Regions from separate parts of the Homo sapiens genome. Here all the other regions are linked to region 1. Evidence: promoter capture Hi-C in 16 types of primary human blood cells and fetal thymus (Javierre and others, 2016). All regions are on one chromosome and are shown on one strand. Each heading gives the region's core, a stretch centred on a gene start or on the middle of the fragment in contact. The rest is flanking DNA. Distances are from core to core; before and after follow the strand shown. Region 1 holds the start of GAPT (GRB2 binding adaptor protein, transmembrane). Region 2 holds the start of LOC105378980 (a long non-coding RNA gene). Region 3 overlaps GPBP1 (GC-rich promoter binding protein 1). Region 4 overlaps GPBP1 (GC-rich promoter binding protein 1). Region 5 has its middle 97 kb from the start of GPBP1. Region 6 overlaps LOC107986381 (a long non-coding RNA gene). Region 7 has its middle 77 kb from the start of RMEL3.

What was found. Contacts are between HindIII fragments. The CHiCAGO score rates a contact against its expected background, and 5 or more counts as called.
Region 2: a fragment that was not itself captured here is called in contact with the fragment with the promoter of GAPT in region 1 in 1 of 17 cell types (neutrophils); the score reaches 5.2 in neutrophils.
Region 3: a contact is called between a fragment that was not itself captured here and the fragment with the promoter of GAPT in region 1, in 1 of 17 cell types (neutrophils). The highest score is 5.6, in neutrophils.
Region 4: a fragment that was not itself captured here is called in contact with the fragment with the promoter of GAPT in region 1 in 1 of 17 cell types (neutrophils); the score reaches 5.5 in neutrophils.
Region 5: a fragment that was not itself captured here is called in contact with the fragment with the promoter of GAPT in region 1 in 5 of 17 cell types (total CD4 T cells, M0 macrophages, neutrophils and 2 more); the score reaches 6.7 in total CD4 T cells.
Region 6: a contact is called between a fragment that was not itself captured here and the fragment with the promoter of GAPT in region 1, in 9 of 17 cell types (neutrophils, monocytes, M2 macrophages and 6 more). The highest score is 17.6, in neutrophils.
Region 7: a contact is called between a fragment that was not itself captured here and the fragment with the promoter of GAPT in region 1, in 6 of 17 cell types (naive CD8 T cells, total CD4 T cells, naive CD4 T cells and 3 more). The highest score is 7.8, in naive CD8 T cells.

What each region holds. Positions count from the first base shown.
Region 1 is chr5:58,489,573-58,493,753 of GRCh38, forward strand. It overlaps GAPT (GRB2 binding adaptor protein, transmembrane), which reads left to right and starts at 1,863. Exons shown (of 3, transcript NM_001304431.2): 1 at 1,863-1,969; 2 at 4,139-4,181. The HindIII fragment of the contact is 6,945 bases long and covers 1-4,181 here.
Region 2 is chr5:56,897,842-56,902,022 of GRCh38, forward strand. LOC105378980 (a long non-coding RNA gene) reads right to left here and starts at 2,225. Exons shown (of 3, transcript XR_948347.4): 1 at 2,156-2,225; 2 at 409-455. RefSeq lists an enhancer at 1,894-2,063. The HindIII fragment of the contact is 7,054 bases long and covers 1-4,181 here.
Region 3 is chr5:57,205,890-57,210,070 of GRCh38, forward strand. The region is part of intron 2 of GPBP1 (GC-rich promoter binding protein 1); the gene reads left to right. Among named protein-coding and RNA genes, the nearest start is that of GPBP1, 34 kb to the left of the region's middle. The HindIII fragment of the contact is 3,262 bases long and covers 431-3,692 here.
Region 4 is chr5:57,250,338-57,254,518 of GRCh38, forward strand. GPBP1 (GC-rich promoter binding protein 1) reads left to right here. Exons shown (of 12, transcript NM_022913.4): 10 at 617-804. Among named protein-coding and RNA genes, the nearest start is that of GPBP1, 78 kb to the left of the region's middle. The HindIII fragment of the contact is 2,488 bases long and covers 530-3,017 here.
Region 5 is chr5:57,268,667-57,272,847 of GRCh38, forward strand. No RefSeq gene overlaps it. Among named protein-coding and RNA genes, the nearest start is that of GPBP1, 97 kb to the left of the region's middle. The HindIII fragment of the contact is 1,294 bases long and covers 1,095-2,388 here.
Region 6 is chr5:57,296,368-57,300,548 of GRCh38, forward strand. LOC107986381 (a long non-coding RNA gene) reads right to left here. Exons shown (of 2, transcript XR_001742513.2): 1 at 2,858-4,181; 2 at 1-1,448. Among named protein-coding and RNA genes, the nearest start is that of RMEL3, 97 kb to the right of the region's middle. The HindIII fragment of the contact is 8,863 bases long and covers 1-4,181 here.
Region 7 is chr5:57,316,123-57,320,303 of GRCh38, forward strand. It overlaps the pseudogene LOC100288510. Among named protein-coding and RNA genes, the nearest start is that of RMEL3, 77 kb to the right of the region's middle. The HindIII fragment of the contact is 4,097 bases long and covers 352-4,181 here.

The sequences.
Region 1 (4,181 bases), core at 613-3,112:
AGACATAAAACATAATCCCTACAAATGACAATGATCCAATAATTCTATTTTGAATATATACAGCATTTCTTTTATAAACTTGAAGAATAATTATATCCATTACATCAAAAAAATTCTATTTGAGGAAAGTGCCAGTCATTTTCCCTCCATTTTATTTTCCGTTAGAAAAACTAAAGTAATAAGGGGTTAAGCAACTTTTTTAACTTCAAAGGGCAAAAGCTGAATGAGCACCAGTTGTCCTGCCTTCTAGAGAAAATCATAATTTTATACAAACATTGTATAAATTGCCTTTCTTACAGATGTATGCCTAGGCAGGTGAGTGTGTATATTATTTGGAGGGGTGGCTAATACTGAAGTTAAATATAGTGGTGAGAATGTGGAGCACATCAAGTTCATAGCTTCACAACTTCATAACCTCCTTCACTGTAAGATTTTTGTCCAGGACACCCCTATTCTGCCTTAACACCTTATTCTATGAGGCTTAGCTCAGGTCTTGCCTTCCCTGACCACCCTCTGAGCTGGATGCCTCTTTCCTTTACCTCCACTGTCCCTGTCCATAATCCTGTCTTTCTTAGGCATTATCACTTTGATCTGAAATGTTCTGTGGGCGCAGCAGCCTCTCTACTTGGCTTTAAGTGCTGCAGGGAGCTTATTCACTCTTGCATCCTCATCTCTTAGCACAATGCCTGGCATAATGTCAGTGCTCAGCAAGTGTTAATAATACGTCCTGTCCTTCCAATGTCCAGTAGTTATTTCAGTAACTAAATCCTCTTTTTTAAAACCACCTTATGCAAAGTTAATCCTCTGTGGTTCAAAAAGTTCCAAGACAACTTAAAAGACAAATTTTCCATTACTTTGTCATCTCATCTGTCGAATTCATCTGTAATTTGTCTAATTCAGCATCTCCCACTGTGTGTGTTCCCATGAGTTGGACTCCAAGAGATGCTCTTGGTAAGCGTATCTATGTGGGAAACATGTTACTCAATCTAGCAAGGCAGCCAGTGCAGTGGTTTAGCACACAGGTGCTGGGGGCAAACTGCAGGCTCTGTCGGGCAAGTGATCATTCTGTGTGCTTCTGTTTCCTCTTCTGTAAAATAGGACTAATAACAGTTTTTCTCCCTCACAGGGTTGTTGCCAAGATTTGCTGAGTATTACACAAAAGGTTTGGAGTACTTAGTGCTAGGAACATACTGACTACTATTATTAAGCAAAGTTAAACAATTTCTTTTTCTTATTTGGTTTTATTTTGTTTGCTGGCTGTAAGACTGCTGAGAGCCTTTAGCATGCTGATGTACCCATGAATCTCCAGGGAAGCAGTATTCCCCACATTTACTTGATGGAAGAGCTGCTAGCATATCTCAGGGGTAATGGGCCTCAAAACATACCTTAGGAAATTCCTATTTATAAATTTAAAAGAACGTTAACATTTTCCAAACCCAAATTGGGACACTGATTTGACCTGTATGGCTATAACTTGGGAGCATTGGTACATAATATTAATATTTGAAGAGAGGACTGGTCTAGCAACACAAGTAAATAATAATAATAATAATAAAAGCCCAAGACCTATGTGTTACTACAATTAAAATATTTCTTTTTTTAAAAAATCAAAGTACAAGTGAAGTGACTTTTATTGATATTAAAGTGGGAACTGCAAATATGGCCCAAATAAAAAACCATGTAGGCTTTACGTATTATTTTCTGACACAGTTAAAAAACTATTACTTGACAAAGATGAAGGGCCAGACTTCCTTATTCAAAACCTCACGCCATTTATCTTAATTCTGCTGCATCTGATACTGACTTCCTCTAGAGCCAGGAAACTTTGCAAGTATTAAATAGCGTGAACGAAGGAGGGAAAGAAGGAAGTAACCCACCAAAGTGAAAAAGAGGAACAAGTTCTAACCCAATGCAGGTTTAAAACATAACCAAAAGAACAAAAGAGAGAGCTTGACACACCAATCTTGAGGTAAGTAAGAACCTGATTTAAGGTATTTGGATGATTAAACACTATAAGAAACAAGTTTGTCTTTAATTAATCAATGATTTTTATCTTACTACAGTTTTTAGAAAAAAATGCCTTACGTAGCTGTAAGGGGGAAACCCAATTTACAAACTGAGAGTGATGTTAATGTTTCTTTACAATATGATTATGCTTTGCTGTTACCTTGTTTCCAAACAGCAGGGCATTCTCTTACTTGAAAATTCCTGAAGTTTCTCAACAATTTGCGATTTTAAGAAAAATGTCAAATTGTTAGGTAACCTGTTGGAACTGCTTTCCAAAATGAAAACAGAGTCTTCTTTCAAACTGGTCAAAGTGAACATTATTTAAGTGTTAAACTATATTTGAATGGTTATTGTTTAAAATATGTTTTTCATTATAGTAGGTCTTTGTTCATGTCTCACAGGTTTTTTCCTCTAATGTTATTTCGAAGAAAATGATGCATTTCTTTTTCTGTAAAAAGTCTTCTTGTCTTTATCTTGGTAAATATCTCTTAGACAAACAATTTTAATATTTTGGATGTACCAGAATTTCTACTCTACATAGAATAACATAGATGGTAAAAATGCCTTTTCTTCTTAAAAATTAAGAGAGTAATTTATTGCCTTATCCTCAGCTACAGAAGTGACAATAGTTAGCCTTCCTCAACCCTCACCGTGACTTCTGTTGCAGGCCTAGTATCTTTCAAAAAGTTGATTAATTTCAATCAATACTTAAAGTGTATTTTGTAAATTTATTTCAAATATTCTGGCAAATAACTTCTTAAATCATTAACCATGTATACCATAAAATATCTTGCAGATAATTGGTGCTCATCTGTTTCAGACAGGAAATGAGGTCCTAATGATTAAAGTCATTTGGCTAAACTTTTGTCCTTGAACACAAGCACGGCTGGCCTTATAAAGGAGGGACCCTGCAGATTGTAAATCTTATGTGGCGGACCATACAGTTCTCAACCTCAATATTACTCCCAAAAATTCCAAGGAGATTAAAATGTTTCTGCATCTGGGGTGCTTGTCCCTGTATTTTTATCAAAAAATTGTATAAATTAGCTGCACATCTTATTTAATTTTCTTTTATGAAATGTCAAATTAAATATTTGCATATTAATATATTCTAACCTTGGACAAATTTATGAACGTTCATTACCATTAAACTTTTCATGAAAACTCACTGAAAGCAGAGCACCACTTTGTGAATTTCTATTTTTCTTCTCATTGTTACTATTATTATCCCATAAGGAGATTACTTCATTCATTAACAAATGTCTAATAGATTAGTCATTCTGTGTCTAATGCTGGTGTTGGTAATACAAAGGTAAATAATATATGATTTCCAACCTTCGAGAACCTCAGAGCTAATCAAGCTATACAAATTTTCTGACTGATGCACTTAGTAGCATGTTACAGATATTTGGATAAATAATATTTTGGGGAAATTTTTACCTGAATTCTCATTCAGTCACATTTTGGTTGTAAGGAAGTTACTTAACTTCTTTAAGCCTCTCTTCTTATCTATAAAATGGTGATATGAATAGTACCCACTACATATAGCAGCTATAGGATTAAATGAGATAATCCCTGTAACAGTTTTTAAAAGCTGAAACTCTTAACTAAACATTATTGATGATAATAACATTCCATAGATGATAATAATCATTTCACAGGCACTGTTGGATCTATGTCTATGTCTAGACTGAAAATATACAGTAATAATGTTTTGTTGATAAAATCACAATGGAACATGCAGCCCAGTTGAACACTTCCCCTTCTTGTCTCCTTGCCATTTTAAAGCATCAACAGAAAACAATGTAAAATCATCTTGCATGGAAGTTATTTTCTGAAAGCTATGAGAAAACCTGTGATACTAAGGATTTTGAAAATACATTGGTTTACTTTAAAGATCTCATTTCATGTTTTAAGTATAAACTACACCCTTGAGTTTTAAACTATCATCTTAAGCAATTAGATGCTGACATTTGCAGTCATTTTTAAATGCATTATTTCATTCAATAAATATTGATTGGATGCATTTTCTGTGCTAGGTGTTGTGCCATTCTCTGGGAACATACAGATGAAATGACCTGAACCCTGCCCACCATTTAACCAAGTAAGAATACAATTCTCTCTCATTTAGGTTATCACGCTATAATAGAGAATGGACTCATTAATATGGGATT
Region 2 (4,181 bases), core at 1,682-4,181, 1.6 Mb before region 1:
AGATGAAGTAATAGAACCAATTCTATTGCTCCTTAATTCTATTTAAATGATATTAATAATTTTATAAAATGGGTGACAGTCTTCATGTCAGAATCCAGAAAAATGTTGGGGTATTGTGCTCATAGAAATGCCAATGATTGCATTTATGAGCTGATGTAAGTCATTTGTTATAAAACAATGCATGAAATAACTACAGTGAGGGAAAACTGACTAATGGAAACTTATACAAATTGCTGTCTTTCTATGTCATGACGTGGTTTGGCCGTTTTAAATTATACTATAAGCATAAATGCCAGGTTGAGCTGTGATTAAAAAGGAAAGGACGGGCCTCTTAAAGTAGGTAACGACGGATGCAGTGACTACAGGACCTGAGATACAACCTGGGTTAAATCTGGTTCTGCCACTTACCTGCTACGTGACCCCCATTTTGACTTTCTGAACCTCCATTTCTGCATCTATAAAATGAAAGTGACAGTGTCGTGAGAAGTGAGAGCCTATATAAATGGCCTAGAATAGTATCTGGCATGTAGTGAATGCACAAGATGTGTTTTTATGAATGAATGACCCAAAGGTCACAGACTCAAACCACCCATGGGACTAGATCCCCAGCAAGGCTTGTGGCGGACCTAAGAGTTTGCGTCAAGTTCATGTACAAGGGAGGTCATAGTTACCATGTCAGAATGAAAGCCCAGTATTGTCAAATCCTCTAAATTTTCAAGAGAAGCTGGAAATCTGGATTTTAGGTGCAATTCCCTGATGTTTAAACATTAAAAACTAATTTAAATCCTTATTAAGAACTATAAAAATTATTTGGGCTAGACTACTGTCCTGTGGCTGACTACCTTTTGACCTCTGATCTGTGCCCAGGCTTAGAAAACAAAAAAGGTAGAAAATTAGACGAGAATCTCAGCTTTGGGAAATTGGATCTAAGACTTTTGTCTTTTTTTTTTTTTTTTTTTTTTTTTTTTTTTGAGACAGAATCTCACTCTGTGACCAGGCTGGAGTGCAGTGGTGTGATCTCGGCTCACTGCAACCTCCAACTCCCTGATTTAAGTGATTTTCCTGCCTCGGCCTCCCAAGTAGTGGGATTACAGGCACGTGCCACCACATCCAGCTAATTTTTTTGTATTTTTAGTAGAGACGGGGTTTCACCATGTTGGCCAGGATGGTCTCGATCTCCTGACGTCGTGATCTGCCCGCCTCAGCCTCCCAAAGTGCTGGGGTTATAGGCATGAGCCACCATTCCCGGCCAAGACTTTTGTCTTCCAAGATGTGAGATGAACAAAAGTGGAGATGCTGATTATAGATGCTAGACAGCTTACCTCTGAAGAGAAAATTAATGTCTTAACTACACACACTAATGTGAAATGCTTACCACTACAGCTCAAGTATCATGTTACAAAATATTAATATGCATATGTAGCATTCAAATATGTTGTCGATGTTAGAGTTAACTTTGTAGGTCTTATTTTGCAATAGATAACTGTCTGCACAGTCCGTTACCAAAAGAACTCCATCGATGACTGAAGCCAGTCTCATTAGTTGGTATGCAACCTGACATCTCTATACCCCATGCCTCATGGCCCTAGGTTGTAACTTATTACATCTGTAGAGGTAAAACCAGCCTAAGCTGATGTGGCAAGGGATAAATCCTTCATGCCCCAAAATTCTTTTTCCCACAATGCTGAGATTCCTGTTAGAGTTTATTTTTGAGATAACTAAGTGATAGCTTCCCTTAAGGTCAATTTACTTAATAAGATTTCTCAACATCTATGTAGACATACTGAGAGGATGAGGGTTGTAACTAGGGTGAAATGGAGAGAAAGGATAGGAGGAGAAATAAAAAGATGGGGAGATATTGAAAAATCTTTGGCAGAGAGTGGCATGACGATATTTGTGCGTTAGAAAGAGCACCCTTGCAGTACCTTGAAGAAAGAATTACATGGGCCAGTACAAAAGGCAGAGAGAAAGTCAGAAGGCAATTGCAGTATCCAGAACCTAGGTGAAGGTAGCATCATGGGAATGAGGAGGAAGAGACAAATCTGAGCGATATTAAACAGCAGAATTGAAAGATTGTAGAAATGATCTTGGGGGAAGGGTATGCGGAGGATGGAGAATGACATCGAGGATGCGTCTGCTATCCAGGCTTGGTCACCTGTGTGAACGCTGGTGCCATTACTGATACAAGGAAATCACAGGGGGAGTAGGTTGGAGGACAAGATGTGCTTTGGCCATGTTAAAATATTCGAGTTGCCTGGAGGATATCCAAGTAGAAGTTTCCAGTAATACTGTATATGCACATGAGTACCTCCAGAGATACTTTGGTTGCAAATAATAAATGTGCAAGCTATTGACATATAAATGGTCACTGAAGCGATTGATATATCATTTAGGGTTGTACTCAGCTGCACGTAAAAGTGACTGGACTACATAGCCTACAAATGAGAGAAGGTAAGCAGGTCAGGGCTGGTGTATTAGGCCTAGGGTGTCATCAATGTTGCCATGCTTTATCTTCCCGCTCCACTCTTCTCAGCATGAGGCTTTCACCCTCAGGCTCCAACTCTGATCTCCAATCTACAATCAGGGAAAGAAAAAGGAGAATAAAAAGGTAGTGCCTGTGTCAGGAAGACAGAAACTTTCCTTAAAATGCTTACGAGATTTTCACTCACATTTCATTTGACTAGAACTCCCTAGCTATAAGGAAGTCTGAGAAGAATGGACATCAAGCAGGCAACTCTACAGCATCTACCACAATGAGTCACAAGGGAAACGGGGGAGAATACTCAGGAGAATATGTTCAGTGAGGAAAAACCAAGACCAGAACCCCGATGAAGACCAAGATTTAAGGCATAGACAAGAAGCAGAATAGATAAAGGAGACAAGAGCTCATCTTCAGAAACTAGAAACGCACAGGGTCAGGGAAATCAAGAGAGGAGAATGTTTTAAAGAAAGGTCAGTAATTTCAAAAGCCACAGACGTCAGGTAAGATAAGAACTTAAGTCTCACAAGGTGAATGGCAAGGACCATTCCAGTGAAGCCGACTAGAAGGAAACATGATCATAGCTGGGCAAGCATGGTCATGGAGATGATGTGCATAGCCTACTTTGTCCAGAAGTCTGTCTAGGAGCAAAAGTGAAGGGAACAACGTGGAAGAATTATTTGGGCAATTATGCAACCTCCAGAAGAGGGCAGCAGAGTAAAACTTTTAATTTGCACTGCCTGCCAGATATCTGAAAATCAAAGGTTATCTCACCCCTTCCTCAGGAATAGAGCAGAAATCTCAGTGTTCCCCCTTAGAATACTGAAAAAAACTCAAAACTATCACTAAGAGTTGCATTTTTCCATTCTAAAACCTAGATTCTATGCTTATCTATTGCATAACAGGGTATTCCTAGTCCCTCTACCCGCTCCTAACAGTCTACAACAAAAGGAGAGGCTGTAGCAAGATACTTGATGCCCTTTCCTGGTCTCTTGTTCTCAGAACCACTCTACTCTCAGCTGGCTGGGTCATCCATCCATTCATCCATCCATCCATCCATCCAACCATCCATCCATCCATCCATCCATCCATCCATCCATCCATCCATCCATCTGTCCATCCATCCATCCATATCCATCCATGCATCTATCCATCCATGCATCCTGCCAACTACTGTTCCTCTGAGCTTTTCAAACTCTATTTCCAGCTAGTACTCTGCTACTAGAACATTCAATGACTATCTACTGCTGACTACCTCAAATGTCCATGTTTTTTAATGGTCTGACCTTATTCTGCCTAAATCTTTATTTCCTACTATCCGTAATACAAAATTTCTGTTCTACTCCTTTCGTTACATTCCTGCTCTCTGAATCCATTGTGTTCCACCCCACCTCTGCACCTTCCCTCACACCAGTGGTTTTCAAACTTTTTGTTCTCAGAGCAGTCAAGAAGTGCTGCCACAGAACCTTCCAGTCGATTCCCAAGACTGCCAAAACTAGCTGGTGTACTACATACCTATATGGAGCATGCTGCACAGTATAGTCCTAATAGATTTGTATATTTATTACATTTTTTTACAGTCGATGGCAGTAAAGTGGCCAAAGGAAAAGGTGCCTTTTGCTAATTCATACAAAGACTAGCAGAGATCATTTTCTCCTCCTTTTTATGCAATATTTTAGGTCCTGCAGCACAAAATTATTTT
Region 3 (4,181 bases), core at 812-3,311, 1.3 Mb before region 1:
AGTGGCTGGGAATACAGGTGTGCCTCACCACACCTGGCTAAGTTTTAAACATTTTTTTGTAGAGATAGGGACTCACTGTGTTGCCCAGGTTAGTCTCAAACTCCTGGGTCAAGTGATCCTCCTGCCTTGGCCTCCTAGAGTGCTGGGATTACAGGCACAAGCCATTGCATTTGGCCCTTTGTACATTTTAAAATTGAGTTGTCTGTTTGTTGTTGAGTTGTAAGAGTTCTTTATATATTCTGGATACTAGACCTTATTAGATATGAGGTGCATATATTTTCTTCTGTCAGTTGTCTTTTTACTTTATAGATAATATTTTTTGCACATGTTTTAAATTTTCATGAAGTTCAGTTTTTGTTTTCTTTTTTTAATTGTTACTCTTGGTTTTGGTGTCATATTTAAGAATTCATTGCCAAATCCAAGGTCAGGAAGCTTTATCTCCCTGTTTTCTTCTAAGAGTTTTATAGTTTTTGCTTTTATATTTAGGTCTGTGATTTATTTTGAGTTTATTTTATTTATTTATTTTTGAGACAGAATCTTGCTCTGTTGCCCAGGCTGGAGTGTAGTAGCGCGATCCCGGCTCACTGCCACCTCTGCCTCCTGGGTTCAAGCTATTGTCCTGCCTCAGCCTCCCAAGTAACTGGGATTACAGGCACCTACAACGATGCCATGTTGGGTTTTGCCATGTTGGCCAGGCTGGTCTCGGACTCCTGACCTCAAGCGATCCACCTGCCTTGGCCTCCCAAAGTGCTGGAATTACAGGCGTGAGCTACTGCACCCAGCTGAGTTTATTTTTGTATATGGTTTGGGTAGGGGGGTCCAATGGCTATTTAGTTGTCCAGTCTGTTTTTTTGAAAAGACAATTCCGTATTGAATCATCTTAGCACTCTTGTTGAAAATAACTTGGATATAAATGTGTGGGCTTATTTCTGGTTTATATGTCTGTTCTTAGGCCATACTACAGTTTTGATCACTATGGCCAAGGTGCGAGGATTGCTTGATTCCAGGAGTTTGAGACCAACCTGGGCAACGTAGACCCCATCTCTACGAAAAATATTTTTAAAATTAGCTTGGTGTGGTGGGGCATGCCTATATTCCCAGCCACTTGGGAGGATGAGGTGGTAGGGTCGTTTGCACCCAGGTGGTGGAGGCTGCATTGAGTCATGGTAGTGCCACTGTACTCCAGCCTGGGTGATAGAGTGAGACTTTGTCTCGAAAAATAATCAAAATGGGCAAAGGACTTGAATATTTTTCCTAAGAAGATCTACAAATGGCCAGCTCACTGTTACTTTACAGTAAGTTTTGAAATAGGGAAGTGTGAGTTCTGTAACTTTATTCTTTTTCTGAATTGTTTTTGGATGTTTAGGGCCCCTCGCACTTCCAAAGGAAATTGAGAATAGCCTTTTTTATTTCTGTACAAAAGAGAGTGTTGGATTTTTTTTCTTTTTTGAAATAGTGAAACTTAGTGAAAGGTTCTCTTATCCCCTTTGCAGGGCATGTGATGGGGGTGTGCCTTGCTTCTTTGGCACCCCACTGCTCAAATCTCTAGGGAGAGCATGCAGACAGGGCAGGCTGTGGGACTCCGACCCCACGGCAGCACCTAGGGGTGAATGTTTACAGCTCCTGAAGCCCCAGTGGGCATGTGTTACAGGGTGCCCTTTTAGTCTAGCCATCCATAGGCGGCTTGTGTTAGCTCAGTTAGATGCCCTGCCTTATCGCAAGGACAGAGGGCTTTTTTGCCTTGGTGTATGGGAAGAATCAGATCACACGTGGGCTTGGAGAACGAGTGCAAGGTTTTATTGAGTGGAAGTTTCCAGCAGATGGATGGGAAGCCAGGAGGGAGATGGAGTGGGAGGGTGTTTTCCCCTGGAGTCCTGCAGCTCAGTGACCTGGGCTCTCCTCTGACCGCACCAGCCAAACCCAGCCAAACTTCATGCCCTTCTTTGGTCGATGGCCTGCCAGCCTGCTTTCTGTCAGTGTGGTATTCCACTGGCATGCTTCCCTGGACATCCAGCTATTTGTGTGTTCTTCCGCCGATATGTCCCTCTCGATGACGTCCAGCCACTTGTGTCTCTGCCTACTAGAGTCTCTGAGGGTTTTATAGGCACACGATGGGGGTGTGACTGGCAGAGTGGTCTTGGGAAATGCATCATTTGGTCAGGAAAACAGAAATGCCTGTCCTCACCTAGATCCGTGGGCACAGAACCGGGGATGGAGCCCTCGCGAGGGACCATGCCCTTCCCTTCCCAGCGCTTGCCTGCACACTTCTGTATCAGTAGGGTCTTACTCTTTCTCAGGGGATTGGAGCCCTAGCCAGGGACCATGCCCTTTTCTTCCCAGCACTTCCTTGCCTCCCTCCATATCAATAGAGTCTCATTTTGTTGCTCAGGCTGGAGTGCAGTGGTGTGATCTTGGCTCACTGCAACCTCCACTTCCCGGGCTCAAGCAATCCTTCCGCCTCAGTGTCCCAAGTAGCTGGGACCACAGGTACGAGCCACCATGCCTGGCTGATTTTTTTATTTTTAGTAGGGACGGGGTTCACCATGTTGCCCAGGCTGGTCCTGAGCCACTGAGCTCAAGTGATCTGCTCACCTTGTCCTCCCACAGTGCTGGGATTATAGGCGTGAACCACTGTAGCCTGGCCGGGTGTTGGAATTTTAATAGAGATTACGTTGAATCTGTAGATCATGTTTGGGTAGTGTTGTTGTCTTAACAGTGTTGAGTTTCCCAGTCCTCAAACACAGGGATATCTGTCTTTTGTTTTTCTTTTTTTTTTTTTTTTTTTGAGACAGAGTCTCACCCCGTCGTCCAGGCTGGAGTGCAATGGCGTGATCTCGGCTCACTGCAACCTCTGCCTCCTGGGTTCAAGCGATTCTCCTACCTCAGCCTTCCAAGTAGCTGGGATTACAGGTGCCTGCCTCCATGCCCAGCTAATACTTTATTTTAGCAGAGATGGGGTTTCACCATGTTGGCCAGCCTGGTCTCAAACTCTTGACCTCATGTGATCCACCTGCCTGGGCCTCCCAAAGTGCTGGGATTACAGGCTTGAGCCACTGTGCTGGGCCAGGGATGTCTTTCTGTTTAGGTCTTTTAACATTTCTTTCAGCACTGTCTTAATAGTTTTTGGTGTGCAAGTCTTAACATTTTCTTGGTTATATTTATTTATTATAGGTATTTTATGCTTTTGGATTTTACTGCGAATTGAGTTGTTTTCCTAATTTCTTTTTTGGATTGTTAATAGTGTATACACAAACAGCTGTTTTTGTGTGTTGATCTTCTATCTTGGCAGCGTTCCTGAATTTAATTAGCTCTAATACATATTTTTTCTGGACTCTTTAGAATTTATGTAAGATCATGTAATCTGTGAATAGGAATAATTTTACTTTTTCCTTCCCAATTTGGATGCCATTTAAAAAAATACGACACTGTCTCACTATGTTCCCCAGGCTGGAGTGTAGTGCTTTTCACAGGTGCCATTATAGCACTCTACAGCCTCAAACTGTGGGGCTCTAGCACTTCTCCCTTCCCAGGCTCCCAAGTATCTGGGACTACAGGTGCTTTGCACTGTGGTGGCTCAGGATGCCTTTCATTTCTTTTCTTGCCTAGTTGCTATGGTTAGAACGTCTACTACAGTGTTGAATAGAGCTTGTGAAAGCAGGGCATTCTTGTCTTGTTCCTGATCTTAAGGGGAAAGCTTTCAGTCTTTCACCATTGAGGATGATGTGCTGTGGTTTTTTTTAATAGATGCTGTTTATCAGGTTGAGCAAGTTTCCTTCTTGTTTCTAGTTTGTTGAGTATTTTTATAATTAAAGGGTGCTAGATTTTGTCAAATGCTTTTTCTGCATCAATTAAGATGATCGTTTGGTATTTTTCTTTCATGTTATTAATGTGGTGTATTATTGATTGATTTTTGTATGTTGAGTCACTCTTGCATTCCTGGGAAAATACTACTTTGTATGGTGTTTAATCCTTTTAATATGCTGCTAGATTTGGTTTACTGGTATTTCATTGAGGATTTTTACTCAGTACTTTGGTTGTAGTTAGAATTCCTTAGCTATTGGTTGATTTTGGGTGTTTTTGATGGTCTTTGTGATTTTAAAGCTTATTTTAAAGTTTTCTGAAATCATTATAAAGACAGTAAGTTTGTTATTCTGATGAAATCAATTTGAGTAAGTTTTTCT
Region 4 (4,181 bases), core at 524-3,023, 1.2 Mb before region 1:
TATAGTTTCTGTGGAAAAATACATTTAAAAAGCATTCTTGTTTATATCTGCTCTCTTTTGCTTGTCCCATCTTGCCTGCCTTCATGCTTTTAATTTTGCATTTGTTGTATAGATATGAATACTTAGGGTAAGAAAGCTTTGGATATCCATCCTGGCTTAATTTTTCATTCCTAAATTTAACAATTATAAGTATTACGTTTATGGTTGTTGGTTTTTTTTTTTTTTTTTAGAGTTTTGCTCTTGTCTGGAGTATAGTGTACAATGGCATGATCTTGGCTCACTGCAACCTCCACCTCCTAGGTTCAAGCAATTCTCCTGCCACAGCCTCCCAAGCAGCTAGGACTACAGGCGTGTATCACCACGCCCAGCTAATTTTTTTGTATTTTTAGTAGAGATGGGGTTTCACCATTTTGGCCAGGCTCGTCGCAAACTCCTGACCTCAGATGATCCACCCGCCTTGGCCTTCCAAAGTGCTGGGATTACAGGGGTGAGCCACTGCGCCTGGCCGCATTTATGTATTTTCAATGGAAGCTTAGTTAGGATCTATTAAAAGTTTTTAATAACTGTATTCTGTAGAACTCATTCTTTTTTTTTTTTTTAACTCTCTAAAAATCAGGATGACGACTCATTTAATTTACATAACAGCAATAGTACTCACCAAGAAAGGGATATAAACCGAAACTTCGATGAAAATGAAATTCCTCAAGAGAATGGCAATGCCTCAGTGATTTCCCAGCAGATCATTCGGTCTTCAACCTTCCCACAAACTGATGTTCTTTCAAGTTCACTTGAGGCAGAACACAGGCTAGTATTTGTTTGTACTTTTTGCTCAGCATTTTCTGTATTCGAGATTTCAATATTATAGAGTTTTTACGTGATTTAACAGGTTTATTGGAATACAACTTACGCCATAAATTTCACCCATTATGATATACAGATGGTTTTTAATATATTCAAAGTAGCCCTTTGTTCACTCGCATTTACTTTTCATTTGCACTCTGTCCTAGGCAGCTACTATTCTTTCTATAGATTTGCCTTGTGTATGTATCTTATATAAGTGGAATAATATAGTATGTGATTTTTGATGTCTAGCTTCTTTCACTAAGTATAATATTTTCAAGTTTTATTTGCATTGTAAGCACGTCAGTACTTTGTTCCTTTTTATTGCTGAATAGTACACTATATGACTATACTGCTTTTTTGTTCATCAGTTGATGAATATTAGTTGTTTCCACCTCTTTTTTTTTTTTTTTTAACAGTAGGCTCTAGTCCAATCTACTTTTTGACTGTTTTGGATAATGCTGCTGTGAACATTCATATATAAGTTCTTGTGTGGATATGTTTTTATTTCTGTTGGATAGATACCTAGGAGTTGAATTGCTGGGACATATGATAGTTGTGTTTCACATTTTTAGAAACTGACAAACTATTTTCCAAAATGACTATGTCATTTTACTTCCTTATCAGCAATATAGAAGGTTCTAGTTTCTCCACATTCTTACCAACACATGGTACCATCTATCTTTGATTACAGTCATTCTAGTGGGTGTGAAGTATGATTTCCCTAATGACTAATAGTGTTGAGTATCTTTTTATGTGCTTATTGGCCATTTATCCTCTTAGGAGAGAAATAACTGTATAAATACTTCGCTCATTTAAAAATTACATTTTCTTACTAAGTTGTAAGAGTTCTTTATATATTTGTGTATAAGTCTCATATATGATTGGCAGATAATTTCTCCCATTCTGTGAGTTTTTTCATTCTCTCAGTAGTGCAATCACCTCCCACCCACCCCCACCCCCACCCCCACAGGCACCTTTTGAGATGAGGTCTTTCTGTGTTGCCCAGACTGGTCTCAAGTGATCCTCCTGAGTAGCTGGGATTACAGGCTTGCACCACCATGCACGGCTTCAGTGGTACCTATTGAAGGGCAGAAAGTTTTAATTTTGATGTAGTTCATTTTTTTCCTTGTATGGTTTATGCAGGTTTCCTGGATGATGTGAGGTAGGAGTTCAGACTCATCCTTTCCCACGTGGACAGCGAATTGTCCCAATATGTGATTTATTTTTCGAGACAGTGTCTCACTCTGTCACCCAGGCCGGAGTGCAGTGGTGCGGTATTAGCTCACTGTAACCTCTGTCTCCCAGGGTCAAGTGATCCCCCCACCTCAGCCTACCAAGTAGCTGGGACCACAGGTGTGCACCACCATACCCAGCTAATTTTTGTATTTTTTTGTAGTGATGAGGGTTTCACTATGTTGCGTAGGCTAGTCTCAAACTCCTGAGCTGAAGCGATCCTCCCGTCTCGCCCTCCCAAAGTGCTAGGAGTACAGGCATGAGCCACAGTGCCCAGCCAGTCATTTAGTTTTTATTGTAAATTTTTTTTTTTTTTTTGACAGGTCTTGCTCTGTTGCCCAGGCTGGAGTTCAGTGGCAGGATCTTGGCTCACTGCCACCTCACCTCCTGGGTTCCAGAGATTCTTGTGCTTCAGCCTCCTCAGTAGTTGAGAATACAGGCACACGCCACCATGCCTGGCTAATTTTTGTCTTTTAGTAGAGATGGGATTTCATCATGTTGGCCAGGCTGTTCTCGAATTCCTGACCTCAAGTGATCCACCTGCCTCAGCCTCCCAAAGTGCTAGGATTACAGGTGTGAGCCACCACTCCCAGCCTGCTGTAAACTTTTAACAGCACTTTTTGCTTCCATCAGTATAGTCTAAAGCGTTTTAAAAAATAGTGATCTCTTAAGTGGTTTAGTCTTAGAATTGAAGAGTATTCATATCTAGAATTTATTTTTGTTTTTTTGTAGTTAAAAGCAGGTATTTTTGCAGAAATGACATACCCTTACTGTATTCCTTAAATAACCACATGGTTCGGCATAACTAAAAGATGTTGAAAACTACGAAAGCAAAGAAAGTTAATAGTTTATACCCTTAGATTATCATATTATTATTCTGTAATTGCTTTGTATAAACTGATTTTTTTTTAACTTAAAAAGTCTTACATCTTCTAAGAGCAAGCTTAGGGCTAAGTTACATTTATTAACAGCCCAGTTGATTGACTTGACTTTTTGCCAGTTCTAGAACCTCATTTAATTCTAAGACAGTGGAAAACTGGGTTATATCTCCTCTTGGATAACTTTTGTGGAATTTATTTATAATTTCAACTTCTATTTTAATTAAGAACATAAGCTACATGAGGCCAAACATTTTGTCCATCTTGTTCACTATATCTAGCACCTAGAATGGTGCTTGGCACATTACTTTGCTTAAATTTGTTAAATGAATGAGGGAAGTAAATATTGCAGTATTTTTCTACCTGTTATGTAAATCTGTAGTTTTTTTGAGGAATATTTTAATTTTACTTTTTATTTCTAATTTTTTCAAATGTTTTAATAGTTTATATTTCTCCTGCCAAGGGTTATGGCTGCCCCCTTAAAAACAAAAAACAAAAAAAACATAGAGATGAGCTCTCACTGTGTCACTGTGTTTCCCAGGCTGATCTCAAAAACTCCTGGACTCAAGTGATACTCCTGCCTCAGCCTCCCAGAGGGCTGGGAGTAGAGGCGTGAGCCACGACACCTGGCTAGATCTTCTTTCGTTCTTTTCTTTCTTTTTTTGAGGCAGGGTCTTATTCCATTGTCCAGCCTGGAGTGCAGTGGCACAGTGATGGTTCACTGATACCACTCAAATGATGCTCCTGCCTCAGCCATTGGAACAGCTGGGATTACAGGTGTGTACCACCATGCCTGGCTAACTTCTGTATTTTTTGTAGAGATGGGGTTTCGCCATGTTGCCCAGGCTGGTCTCAAACTCTTGGGCTCAAGCGATCCTCCTGCCTTGGCCTCCCAGAGTGCTGGGATTACAGCCACCATGCCCAGCCCTTCCCCACGCCCCTCGCTTTTTTTCCCTTAGATTGCTCCTTCAGAATAAATCTTTATCTTTCTGTCTTTAATCATATATTATTACTTTATCTTCGTGGTTACTTTTGTTTCCCTTCTCCAAATCATGTCCTGTTTTGCTTCTTAAATGTGGCTGTAACTATTGTATGTGAATGTGTAGGCATTTAATTTTGTAGGCTGGGCGTTGTGGCTCACACCTGTAATCCCAGCACTTTGGAAGGCTAAGGTGGGTGGGTCACTTGAGGTCAGGAATTCAAGACCAGCCTGGCCAACATGGTGAA
Region 5 (4,181 bases), core at 492-2,991, 1.2 Mb before region 1:
TTTACTTAGATGCCAGAATGTACCTTTCCTCACTAGGGAATATAATTTTGTTGTAGCCTTAATGCCATTTGAATTTTTTTTTTTTTTTGAGACAGTTTCACTCTGTTGCTCAGGATGGAGCACAGTGGCATGAACGTGGCTCACTGCAATCTCCGCCTCCCGGGTTCAGGTGATTCTTACTCCTCAGCCTCCCGAGTAGCTGGGATTACAGGCATGTGCCACCACACCTGGCTAATTTTTGTATTTTTAATAGAAATGGGGGTATTGCCATGTTGGCCAGGCTGGTCTCGAACTCCTGGCCTCAAGTGATCTGTCCACCTCAGCCTCCCAAAATGCTAAGATTACAGACGTGAGCTACTCCGCCCGACCCTAATGTGATTTTCTTTAATGGCTGGAGAGAAGCAAAAACTAGCAGAAGGGAAAACAATGAAATGTCAATCTGTATACTGTAATAAGCAGGTACAGTTGCGTTACGAGAAGTTGACTTGGTGAGGTGAAGAGATATTTTCTCCCTCAAATTTGGACTTAATGTCCTGACATTGTTTAGCTTTTGAAAAGTTATTTTGGTTTATTGACTATTAGAGTGAGTCATTTGACAGAATGAGAAGAACCTGGCTACTGAGAAAGTGAGTCTAGGCAATTCTGTATCCCCACATAGAGACATAGAGACTCATGCCATCTATTAAGATGTCTGAAATTTCTTTTTTGAAGATTATTTTCTAAACCGAATGTTGGCAAACTTTTTCTGTAAAGGGCTAGATGGTAAATATTTTGGACCATGTGATTTTTGTTCCAATTACTCAATTAATAGTACCAATGCAGCCGCAGACAGTAAACAGGTAGGTGTGTCTTTTCCAATAAAACAAGCTGGGTAGGGACAGTAGTTTGCTGATCCTCATTATAAACATTAAAAACTAGGCCTTTGGAAACTCAAGGAAAGTGAAAGTTGGGTTGTCATATTTGATCTTTATACCATTACCTGTGTGATTTTTCAGTCTTGCAAAATGCTTCCCCCTGTCCTGCCCAGTTCTGGGGCAATATTTGAAAGCCTAACTTTTTTTTTTCTTTTAATACAGACATTCTGAATGTAAGGAAGCTTAACTTTTAAGACAATTGTTTCCCGTTTGTAAAACATGATTGTAATGTGTCCACACAGGATAAAATATAGTGTGTCCTAAATCACAAGGAAAGAAGTACAAATTTATCAGTGCAATATAGAGACTTTTACAGAGAAAGTGGGAAAACTTGTGAAACATGGAGATAGTTTTCAAAGGATAGACCTGCTTCCCTTTCTCCTCCAAAAGTGAGGTAATTTCTTCTGTCACTCTGCCAGCATTCTCTGCTTTGAGTATTTATGAGGATAAAAACTGTCTTTTTTCCTCGATTGGATTGTGCCAACAACAATAAGGACCATTTATTTTAACAGAAGACCCTTGCCTGCCTTTGGTGGAAATTATAGCTTATTTTTCTCCAAAGTGGAGACGTTGGCGAAGAGCATTTCATCACTTTGTTATGAACATGAATTGAGAACTAGAGGCATCACTTTATCAGCAACAGGAAATAATAAAACAGGATAAGAGCTTTGAAACAAGAGGTCAAGGTTTGGTATTGAAGTTGCCGTGATAAGGCATCAGGTTGCCATAATTTTGGGGTTTGTACTAAAGTTGAGTAGATGCTGGTGAGACATAATAGCGCAGATAGAAAGCCATAGGTGATGAAGTTAGTATCTTATCAGTAACACATGCTTCAGACTAACAACTAGGCACAGAGGGCAATACTCAAATTCTAGGGTGGGGATGAAGGAAAGATTTCTGTGATGGGGCAAAGATGTGAAGTCAGCGTACTGGACCTGAAATCTAGGAATTAGGAAATTGTCCTCAGCCAGTGAAACCACTCCAGAGGTACCACATGATATCTAAATCCATAGAAAAGAATAAAGAACAAGTTGCTGCAGGAAGCACTGAGAACCCTCCTAGACCTAGCTAGAGGCAGGGCTAAACAAAGTTCAAATAGCCCAGTCAGTCCAACCTCCATGAGAAGGGATCTGATCCATGATGATGAGTAAATAGAGAAGGCCTTCACTAGTTACATTAAAATGTGATCAATGATTTCTTTGGTAGCAAATATTTCTGTAACTGCAACTTTCTAGATTAAAACAATATTCTGCCTTCTCTTTAGATTGTATGAATCTTTCTCCTTTTACCAAATTAAAGCAACAAAGTCAGTAAATAAGGGCCTGCTAGGCTAGGCCTTGTACTGAGGGTACAAAGAATAAAGATAACCCTTGTGCTGAAATTGATCACAACCTTGTAGGACAGACTACTGCAAATGAGTTTTTCAGTATGTGCTGTGTACAGAGCATAGAGCATAGTAGGACAGCTCAGGGAAAGCTTTCCAGAGGATGTCATCGTTTCAATGATTGATTAACAATAGGCACGCTATAGCCCATTGGGTTCAGGAAACCTTTTGGAGTTCAGTATAGGTGTAAGGGGAGGAAAGGGAAATGAGGCTGGTGACACAGCAGGAGCCAGGTCATGAAGGACCCTCTACCATTTTGACCAAATTTTGATTTTATCCTGCAAGCAGTGGGGAGCCATCAAAGATGTTAAAACTGGAATATCAGTCCTTAAGTAACACTAAGATCCATATATATGATTGCTTAAAACTGCAGGGTAAGGGAGGAGGGAAAACTTGTGAATACTTCAGGTGTCACTTTAAGTGACAAGTCATCTAGAGGAGTATATGTTAGTAATGAAAGAGGCAAACTTCCTGGCATGTTGGGATGGGGGAAAGGTTGAACAAGGATCTGACCTGAAGTAGAGAAATTGCCTACGGCAGTCCCTGAGTAATACGCTGTCACATAATTTTAGACCTCACAAATAAAGATGAGGTTCTAATAAGTAATTTCTATCTCTTTTAATAAGCCTATTCTCTATTCCCTGTCCAAAGTAATTTATACTGAAAATTAATTGAGTAATTATTGAGCAATTACTATAAACAAAATGTAGTGCTGGTGGATGAAGAGACCCAAAGATGTAAAAAGTGTGGTCCTGCCTCAAGAAACATCCTCTATTTTATCTACATCTGTTTCCATATATAACTAAGTCCAGGGAAGACAAGCCTTGGATTTTCTGTATAGCTAGGCACATTCTCAGTACCTGAAAATTTGTGTCCAGAAAAACAAAATACTTCTTTTTGAATAGGTGCTTTTGCCATTTCTAAAAATGCAATGAATTTATATGTTTAATGTAGTTTTCTGTGGTTTGTTTCACAATGGGAGAAATAATTAATTTTACAATTTGCTAAGCCATGTCCTCTAAGGCCAAGAACTGCTACTATTAAAGATATTTAAGATATAACAAGAAAAAATAATAAACTAAAAAAACAACAGACAAGATACTTAAAATATGTTTTGACTTCAGAAGACAGATCAGAAGAATAATTCCAAAAATGCTCTAAGCAATGGCAGCATTACCAGAACCATTCCTACATTGACTGAATGCCTTCTGTGTGCCTGGTACTATGATGAGTGTTATTAAATAAATGCAGAGCCCATCAAAGTGACTACTATGAAGGTAGTCATCCAATAGTCGTTTGGATGATCCAGTTTTAGTGTGTGAAAAAATAAAAATCACTTTTGTTTATTGCGATGTGACATTAGTGAGAAATAAACACTCTAACACTGAGGCTGGGTGTGGTGGCTCACACCTGTAATCCCGGGACTTTGGGAAGTCGAGGCGGGTGGATCACCTGAGGTCAGCAGTTTGAGACCAGCCTGGCCAACAGAGTGAAACTCTGTCTCTACTAAAAATACAAAAATTAGCTGGATGTGGTGGCGGGTGCCTGTAGTCCCACCTACTTGGGAGGCTGAGGCAGGAGAATCACTTGAACCTGGGAGGCGAAGGTTGCAGTGAGCTAAGATTGTGCCACTACATTTCAGCCTGGGTGACAGGGTGAGACTCCAAATCAAAAAAAAAAAAAAAAAGAGTAACACTGGTTTTTAGCCTTGGGATTTAGCTATTTGGTGTACAAATGTTCTGCTGAAATCGCAGTTGCTAACTTTGACAAATTTTCAAGCCTTTCTTTTTGACTTGGAGGTAGTTATAAAGAGAGGTTGCATTATCCTAGCATATTTCTCAATGCAGGCTGGGTTGCATTTACTTCACAGATGTTTGTCTTGC
Region 6 (4,181 bases), core at 796-3,295, 1.2 Mb before region 1:
ACTTCAGTAAGTGCACTGCACATGCAGCCCCTCCCAAATGCTGGCAGGCCATTGCACAGGCAGACAGCCCAGCCCAAGGAAAAATCAAAGGAGGAGAGACACAAAACCCCAGAAGCATGACAATATATAAAACCCCATGTCAAAGGTCAAACGGGGCACTTGGATCTTTCAAGATGCCCATTTGGCCCTCTTCCAAGTGTATTTTACTTCCTTTCATTCCTGCTCTAAAACTTTTATAATAGACTCTCACTCCTGCTCAAAAAACTTGCATTATGCTCCTTGGATGTATTCTTTGCTCTGAGGAGGCAAGAATTGAGTTGCTGCAGACCCATATGGGTTCACTGCTGCTAACACATCTGTGTTTGTGTATCTTTGTGTGAGCATAGAGAAAGTTATGAAAGCCTCTTAAAAGTGATTACTTTTGGGAAGGTGTGATTGGATGAGGGTGGAGAGGTTGTTACCTTTTTAAATTACTCAAGTAATTAACAAAGACATTACATTTGAAAACAAAACTTTAGAGCCAAGGCCGGCCCTATTAAATACCACTCCTGGCCCTCTTCCCGCGTTATATGTGGTTTTCCTGAGATTTTCTGTGTATTTGCATGGTTATATATGTACTTGGGGAGAATTCAGAATTTTTTAAAATACATGCTACCACGTTGTACGGATCTTTCTATAATATACCTTTTCACTCCACAGTGGTTCTTTTTTTTGTTATGTGTCCATGTTAGTAAATGTAAACTCTCTAATCCCTTTTTAATTGCTGCATAGGATGCCTTAGCAAATAACCATCTATTTAGCCATTCCTCTACTGACGGGCAGTTAAGACTCTTTCTATTTTTTAGCTATTAGAAACAGTGCCACAGGGGCCACTCGTGTACAAGCCTCCTTGAACGCATGTTTATGTTTCTCTAGGAGAGACACCACTAGTAAAATTGCTGGGTAATAGTGTATGACATTTGAAAAATATTTTTAAAGTAGATTCAGGCCCAGTGTGGTGTCTCTCGCCTGTAATCCCGGCACTTTAGGAGGGCGAGGCAGGAGGATTGCTAAGGCCAGGAGTTTGTGATGAGCCTGGGCAACATAGTGAGAGTTCACTTCTACAAAAAACTTAAAAAAAAAAAAAAAAAAAGAGACTACAGTATATTCTGTAGAATTGCCTTTAAAAGAGGCCATGACAATTTACATTTTATAATCTGAAGGATATTTAAAAAATTATTGTCTAATTTAAAACAGGCATGTCTTAATTAATAAAAAACAAAGAAAATCCATAAAATTGTTCTTGAATTCCCTTTGTTCTCCAAATGTGAAGAGATACATGGATTTTCACCTTTCCTGGCTTCCTCCAGGGAGTCCTCCCAGGTGAGCAGGAGATGGAGAAGGTAGCTTCGGACAGCAAAGATTAATGAGAGTCTTCAGAGAGCTTGTTTCTGTCCCCTGGAACTTACCTGATAAGCAAGAAAAAGTTACAAATTTACTACATATTGAGTATGCCTAGTCTCAAAATCTGAAATCCAAAAGGCCCAAAATCTAAAACTTTTTGAATGCTGGCCAGCATAAAATAAATGCTCCTTGGGGCATTTCAGATTTTCCTACTGGGGATGCTTAGCTAGTGTAATGTAAGAATTCCAAAACCCAAAACGTTTTGAAATGCCAAATACTTCTGGTCCCAAGCAGTCCCAAGAATTTCGACTAAAGGATGCTCAACCTGTATTTGGTGTTTTATTTATAGTTCCAGCATGAGAGAAAGGCATCTCTGAGTTTCAGAAAAGATTTTGGTTGAGCATATGAAAATATTGGCTGAAGAAAGAAAAGGCCTTTAGAATTTACAGAAACATGAAGTGGAAATGGCTCTTCCTCTGACTTAGGCAGTGAATGTAGAACACACCCGGAGAGCTTAATGGGATCTTTCACAGAAATGAAACTCCTCAACAAATGTTTGTCAGCTTAGGTGAGGTTCTTGGCTAAGGCACCAGTAGTGGACTTTGATATTCTTTTACAAGTGTATCACTCACCAGCAGAGGGGGCCAAAGAGCTTTCCACGGTTTGGAAACTCCCTGGCGTCAGAGAAAGCATCGGTATCACCTTTGCCTAATAGTGCAGCATATAAAAAATGTTTAAATTTGGTGTCCAACAAGAAATGCCATAGCAGTCATTTTCTTAAATAAGTAATTTTAACGTATATATGGAATGACATATGCACATTGTTAAAATGCAAATACAAAGAATACAAGAAGGCTTTTTGTATATAAAAACATAAAATGTTTTAAAAGACAGCGCTGGGGCTAAGACTCAGAACTATGTGTTTTAGACACTGTTCCCCCAGTAACCAGTTTGGAAACCTCCGGGATAGCTAATGGCTTCCCTCAGATAGGGAGTTGCCCTCTCCTTAAAAAGTCCCTGCTGGAGGGACAGAAAGGGTGACTTTTGTGGTTCTGGCTTTGTCCTATGGCCCTTTGGATTCCTTCCCACCTTACTGATCATGGTAGTGGAGTGGGTGGTGGCTGGAGGAGAGGCAAAAAGAGCATGTTTCTGTTCTAAACAACTGTCATACAGGGGCTCTGTGTTGATAAAAACACCCATGCTTTTAATTTCACATAATTTGTGGTTTAATTTGGCTATTGCAGTGACAGTCAAGAGATGATTCTCTTTGGAGAGGCTGAGAAGAAAAGGAAAGAGACTAATCAGGGTGTGTTAAACTTTTTTAATAAAAAACGAACACTAGGGGGCAGCAAACCACTGTTCGGAGGAGCGTCTGCACAAAATTTAGTAAGGCCGAAAGATTGTTTTCCTGAACACGTGATGTGTTTGTTAAACATCCTCTAAAAAGGGATGTCTGCTGTCAGGCTGCTTTTACCTGAATGGTAGTTTCAATCTTTAGGCGGTCTTTACTTTTCAGTTTCCTCCACACGTTCCGATACCTGCCATCTTCTCATGGAGCACATTCACATGTCACAATCAGTGTTTCCGCACTCTGGGCTTCTTAAAGGGAGCCCTCCTAGTGCCTCCCACAAAGACCGCTAACATTAATCTCCAAAACCACGCACCTCGTCGGGGAACAGGCGGCCTGAACAGCTCACTTCCTGTATCTTGAGGGATGAGGAGCTGGAGGTCTCCACCCGCTGGGTCTCTGTATTAGTCTGTTTTCACACTGCTTATAAAGACATATCCGAGAGTGGGTAATTTATAAAGAAAAAGAGGTTTAATGGACTCACAGTTCCACGTGGCTGGGGAGGCCTCACAATCATGGCGGAAGGTGAAAGGCACACAAGAGAGAAAAGAGAATCAAGCAAAAGGGATTTCCTCTTATAAAACCAACATATCTCCCGAGACTTAGTCACTACCGCGAGAACAGCACGGGGGAAACTGTCCCCATGATCCAATTATCTCCCACTGGGTCCCTCCCACAACATGTGGGAATTATGGAAGCTATAATTCAAGATGAGATTTGGGTGGTGACACTGCCAAACCGTATCAGTCTCTAAGTTAATACAGATTCTGCCAAGACCTCCTCCTGCCCTCCAGGTGATAGGAGAACTCTAGGGGTCCTATTCAAGTAAGCGTGTTCACAGGGGTGACCTTGCACTGTCCTGAGGGACGTTCCATATAGGCAAAGGCTAAATTTTGTTTGGCTAGATATTTTATTCTAAATCACCTAAGCCTATTTCCTCTGCTGACTCTGGGAATTAGTACCCGGGAGATATATATATCAGCTAGGACTCATATGGGCCTTGGTACCACGTGATGCTTTCTGGTAAGTGCTGCTGAGGTGCCATCAGAGCCCAGAGTATTGGGTTATGGTGTCATTTAGCCATGAGCTGTGTGGCCTTGAACAGACCATGTAACCTCTGTTTCCTCATTTGTAAAATGAAGAAGTGAGCCTGGAAGTGAGCCCAGAAGTGCATCTCTGGATCTGATTTGAAGCAAGTAGATCACCATGCTCCATATTCTTTTACGGGATCACATTTGTAACTGCCTGTGATGGTTAATATTGAGTGTCAACTTGACTGGATTAAAGGATGCAAAGTATTGTTCCTGGCTGTGTCTATGCCAAAGGAGATGAACATTTGAGTCAGTGGACCGGGAGAGGCAGGCCCACTCTCAGTCTGGGTGGCCACAATCTAATCAGCTGCCAGCGTGGCTAGATTAAAGCAGGAAGAATGTGGAAGGACTAGACTGGC
Region 7 (4,181 bases), core at 1,150-3,649, 1.2 Mb before region 1:
ATTTATTTATTTATTTATTTATTTATTTATTTATTTATTTCCAGACAGGGCCTTGCTTTTTTTCCAGGCTGGAATGCAGTGGCATGATCACGGCTCATGCAACCTCCACCTCTCAGGGTCAAGCCATCCTCCCAACTCAGCCTCCCGAGTAGCTGGGACTACAGGTGTGCACCACCACACTTGATTAATTTTTTGATTTTTTGTAGTGACAAGGTCTCACTATATTGCCCAGGCCAGTCTCGAACTCCTGGGATCAAGTGATCCTCCCATCTTGGCTTCCCAAAGTGTTGGGATTACAGACATGAGCCACCGTGACTGGCCTCCCTCCTTTTTAAGGGTGATGGGACAGAAAGCTTTTAAAGAATCTAGAGAGCAGACCACGTTGGGGGCACATAAAGAACACTTACTGAATACTCATTGGATGACTTTAATTTTTCTCATAATGTCTTTTAAATATTTGGTTTTCTAGTTTCAATAAGCTGGACCAGTCAGATTCCCTGTGGACATGAATGAAAGAAGAGACCAATCTGAGGATGCTTTGAGAGTTCCCGAATGTTCTACAAATGGTCCTGTCCCTTCCTGGCCTTCATAAAAAGAATGTTCTTTTTAACTTTGAGTAGTGGTTCTCAATGCAGGTGGGTGGGTCGGAGGTGGTTTTGTCCCCTCCCCAGAGGACATTTGGCAATGTCTGTAGGCAGTTTTGGTTGTCAGGACTTGTGGGAGGGTGCTACTGGCATTTAGTGGGTAGAGGTCAGTTTGCTGCTAAACATCCTACAATACACTGGACGGCCCACAACAAAGCATGACTCAGTCTTGTGGTAATAGTGCTGAGCTTGAGAAACCTGATGCAGAGACAGCAGCTCAAGAAGGTCACGCTGTGTATGGAGGGTTAGCCAATGGGGGACTTCCAGCCATTACATAGAGTGATGATTCTCCTCTTTAAGAAGGCCTGGCATATACTGAAATAGAACAACCTCCATCTACGTCAAAAGCTCAAAGTTGATACAAAACATCACATCAACAGTGGCTTTCTTATCTAAACACCATTTGTCAAAACAGAAAGCCCTTCAAACAGCTGACATTCAGGGAGGGCAGCCTCTGCCCTGCTCTGGGAGCCTCAACCCAGGATATTTCATGTTAACATAAACAGGATAAGCCTTTTCAGCTGCAGTGCTGTTTACCAGGAACCTGCTGGAATAAACTAGATTGTTAAGTTTAATTTAGTGAGCAGCAGTAATCACCGTAGTTCTTCCATTTGTGGAGAAGAAACAAACATGTGGGCACATCTGACAGAAGCTGGATTTGCCAAATGGTGGATTTGCCAAATGGTGAGGGTGACTTTGGAGTGCTACCCCAGCGGATGATGAATGTAAGGATGACAGACTCCATCCCTCAGAGGAAAGAATCAACTTAAAAGTGAAAGAAGCAAGCCTAACTGCCCTCCCTGCTCTGAGGGAGGAATGGAAAGGCATTCTGGAAACGCATTTCTGTCAAAGCCGAACATCAGCAAGTCAGTGACTAAGTTGAAAGGAAATGTGGTCAAAGGGTACAAAGTTTCAATGACCCTGGAGGAATATCCTTTAGCGATCTATTGTACAGCATGGTGACCACAGTTATTAATAATGCATTGTATTTATGCATTTATTTTTATTTCAGTAAGATTTAATAGCTTTTTGGATTAAGCAGTAGAAAAACTTCCATACTTAACTGAGACATTTTATCAAGGCCAAAAAAATTCTTGCAAAATGGTGCAGCCGACTGACAAGCTGACATAGAAAATAAACTTTGCCCAATCACAACTTGTGACTCCCATCCTTGGAGTGCTGACTGGCCTCAGTAAGACAGAATCGCTTTAAATCCATTACTCCATGCCCACCTGAGGCACTGTTGAAGAAATCTCACTGTTCACCCAAGGTGCTGGTTCTGGTACACTTGGATCATAAGTCCATTTGGGGAAAACTCATTTGTAAAGGTTCATCAGTTCTGTGTTCTGAGATTTTAGCTTCCTATCAAAGCTGCACTTCATGCGGCCATGGGTACCTGAAGGCTCCTGGATGTGTCCTCTGCGGCTCCACTTTGTTCTCAGTTCTACTGGTTTAAACCACTGCACATCCTCTCTATTGAAGAACATGTAACATACCACTGCCATCTTAGTACAAATTTTGAAAGGAGGATCACTCAGGACAACTCTCTTGATGACCATTCTGTTTGGATCCACCAGCAAAAGATGGCCTGTAGCAATGAGATTGTGCATTCCATTGCTTTTCTGCTTGAAAAGCAGCAAAGATGAAGGAGGAAAAGTGGTTGGTGCGTATACTGTCACCGCCAGGGCCATATCAGCAGTCAGGAATCTCTGAAATTTATGTTTGTCTGCTGCAGCATGCTGAGAGAATAAAGGTGAGGCTCGGAAGTGCCTGGATCTACAGCGGAATATGAGCTCCTCCTTGGCTTTCGCAGATTCAGTGCTGCCAGGGTCATGCCTCACCACCATATTCAATACTGACATCTTCTGTTCATGAGGTAGTGAAGAAAATGCAATCAAGGGTGCTCCTTGCCTGAATCACTCAACCACTGAGACAGGGACATTAGAGACATGAAGTGTGACATACTGGCCAACATCAGCTCCTTCAACCTCTTTTTCTTCAATCTCTTTAAATATGCTTTTCCTAGTACTAGTAAAGTTCTGAAACTGAAATATTCAAGCACAATCTTGAGCAATATTTTTCCTTAGGATCCTATGGAGATGTCTGGAAGCTCTTGAGGCCTTTGTATTTCTGAAACTGAATTTCTGGCAGCCACATCACAGGGGGTGTCCACCCACTTCACCTGGAAACATCTCTTCCAGTCTTTCTTGTTTACATTTCTCCAACATTTTTGCCTCAGCTTCTTCATCCACTTTCTCATCAGAGAGATCATCATGCACAGACTCCCTTGTAGTCATAGTTTCACATTCCTCCTCTTCTTCATCTTCACACTTTCATGCTGAGATTCCTCCTTCATAAAATCCTCATGTTCTGTATCATCATATTCTTTACCACCTTAGAATCTCCCTTCAAGAAATCCTTTGTCTCACTCAACTCCTCCTCATTGGGCCAGGTTTGCTCCCCCTGCGTTAGATCTGGGATAACCTCTGTTTGTCAGGATTCCTGTCTAGCAGGATCTGCCTTCATTAGGACTTTAAGGTCTTCTTCCATATCATCGACAGTATCCATAGCACAAATCTCTATTGCCATGTCTGGGTCCTTTTGGGATTTAATTACTGTAGGATTTAAAGGGAAAGGGTCCATGGGGTCATCTATGTGTTTCATCTGGAAATCACCACGTCCAGTGATATGCAGCAACCTATTTACATTCAGAGTCTGCCCACGAACATAGCCTGAAATTTCCAAGGTGCCCACCAAATTATTCTCTTCACTAGGAACAAAATCAGCAGTATGGGCAAATAGGTAGGCCTGCTGATCTCGAAAAGCAAGATGCCATTGCTTCTGGTTAGCCAACTGCCTAAGCAGCATCCCTGCCTCCTGTTGAGTGTCTAACAAGAGGAGTTTGTCATCCAGAAAGTGCTTCTCCACTGCTTTACTTAGCTTCTTTCTGGCATCTATTTGTTTCTTCAGTGGGAGGCCAGATAATCCCTGGACAGCTAGTGCTAATGAGGAGAGCCATCCTTGCTACCCAGCTGTCTCTTCTCCGCCAGAACCACCTCCTTCTTCTGCTTTTGGAGCTGACTGGCGGAATGCCTCTGGTCTACTCTGCTGAGTTCTTTTCTCACCTTCTTGCTTAGGGTTTTCAGTGCTAGATGGCCCTTGCCATCCTGCTGTGCAGATCCCCGACCCCGATGCTGCCCACTTTTATGAGCTTTATTCTGCATCTTGAGTGGGCTGGAGTGGTGGGCTGCCATGCTGCAGCTCACGTGTACAGAGTCAGCCCATTGTATTTATTTCGTTTTATTCTTTAATCTTTTTTTTTTTTTGTAAAGTCGGGGTCACACTATGTTGTCCAGGCTGGTCTTGAACTCCTGGACTCAAGTGATCCTACCACCTTGGCCTCCCAAAGTGCTGGGATTACAGACGTGAGCCACCACGGCTGGCCAATAATGTATTGCATATTTCAACATTGCTAAAATAGAGTTTTAATGTTCTCATCACAAAAAAATGATAAATTAGTGAGGCAATGCATACGTT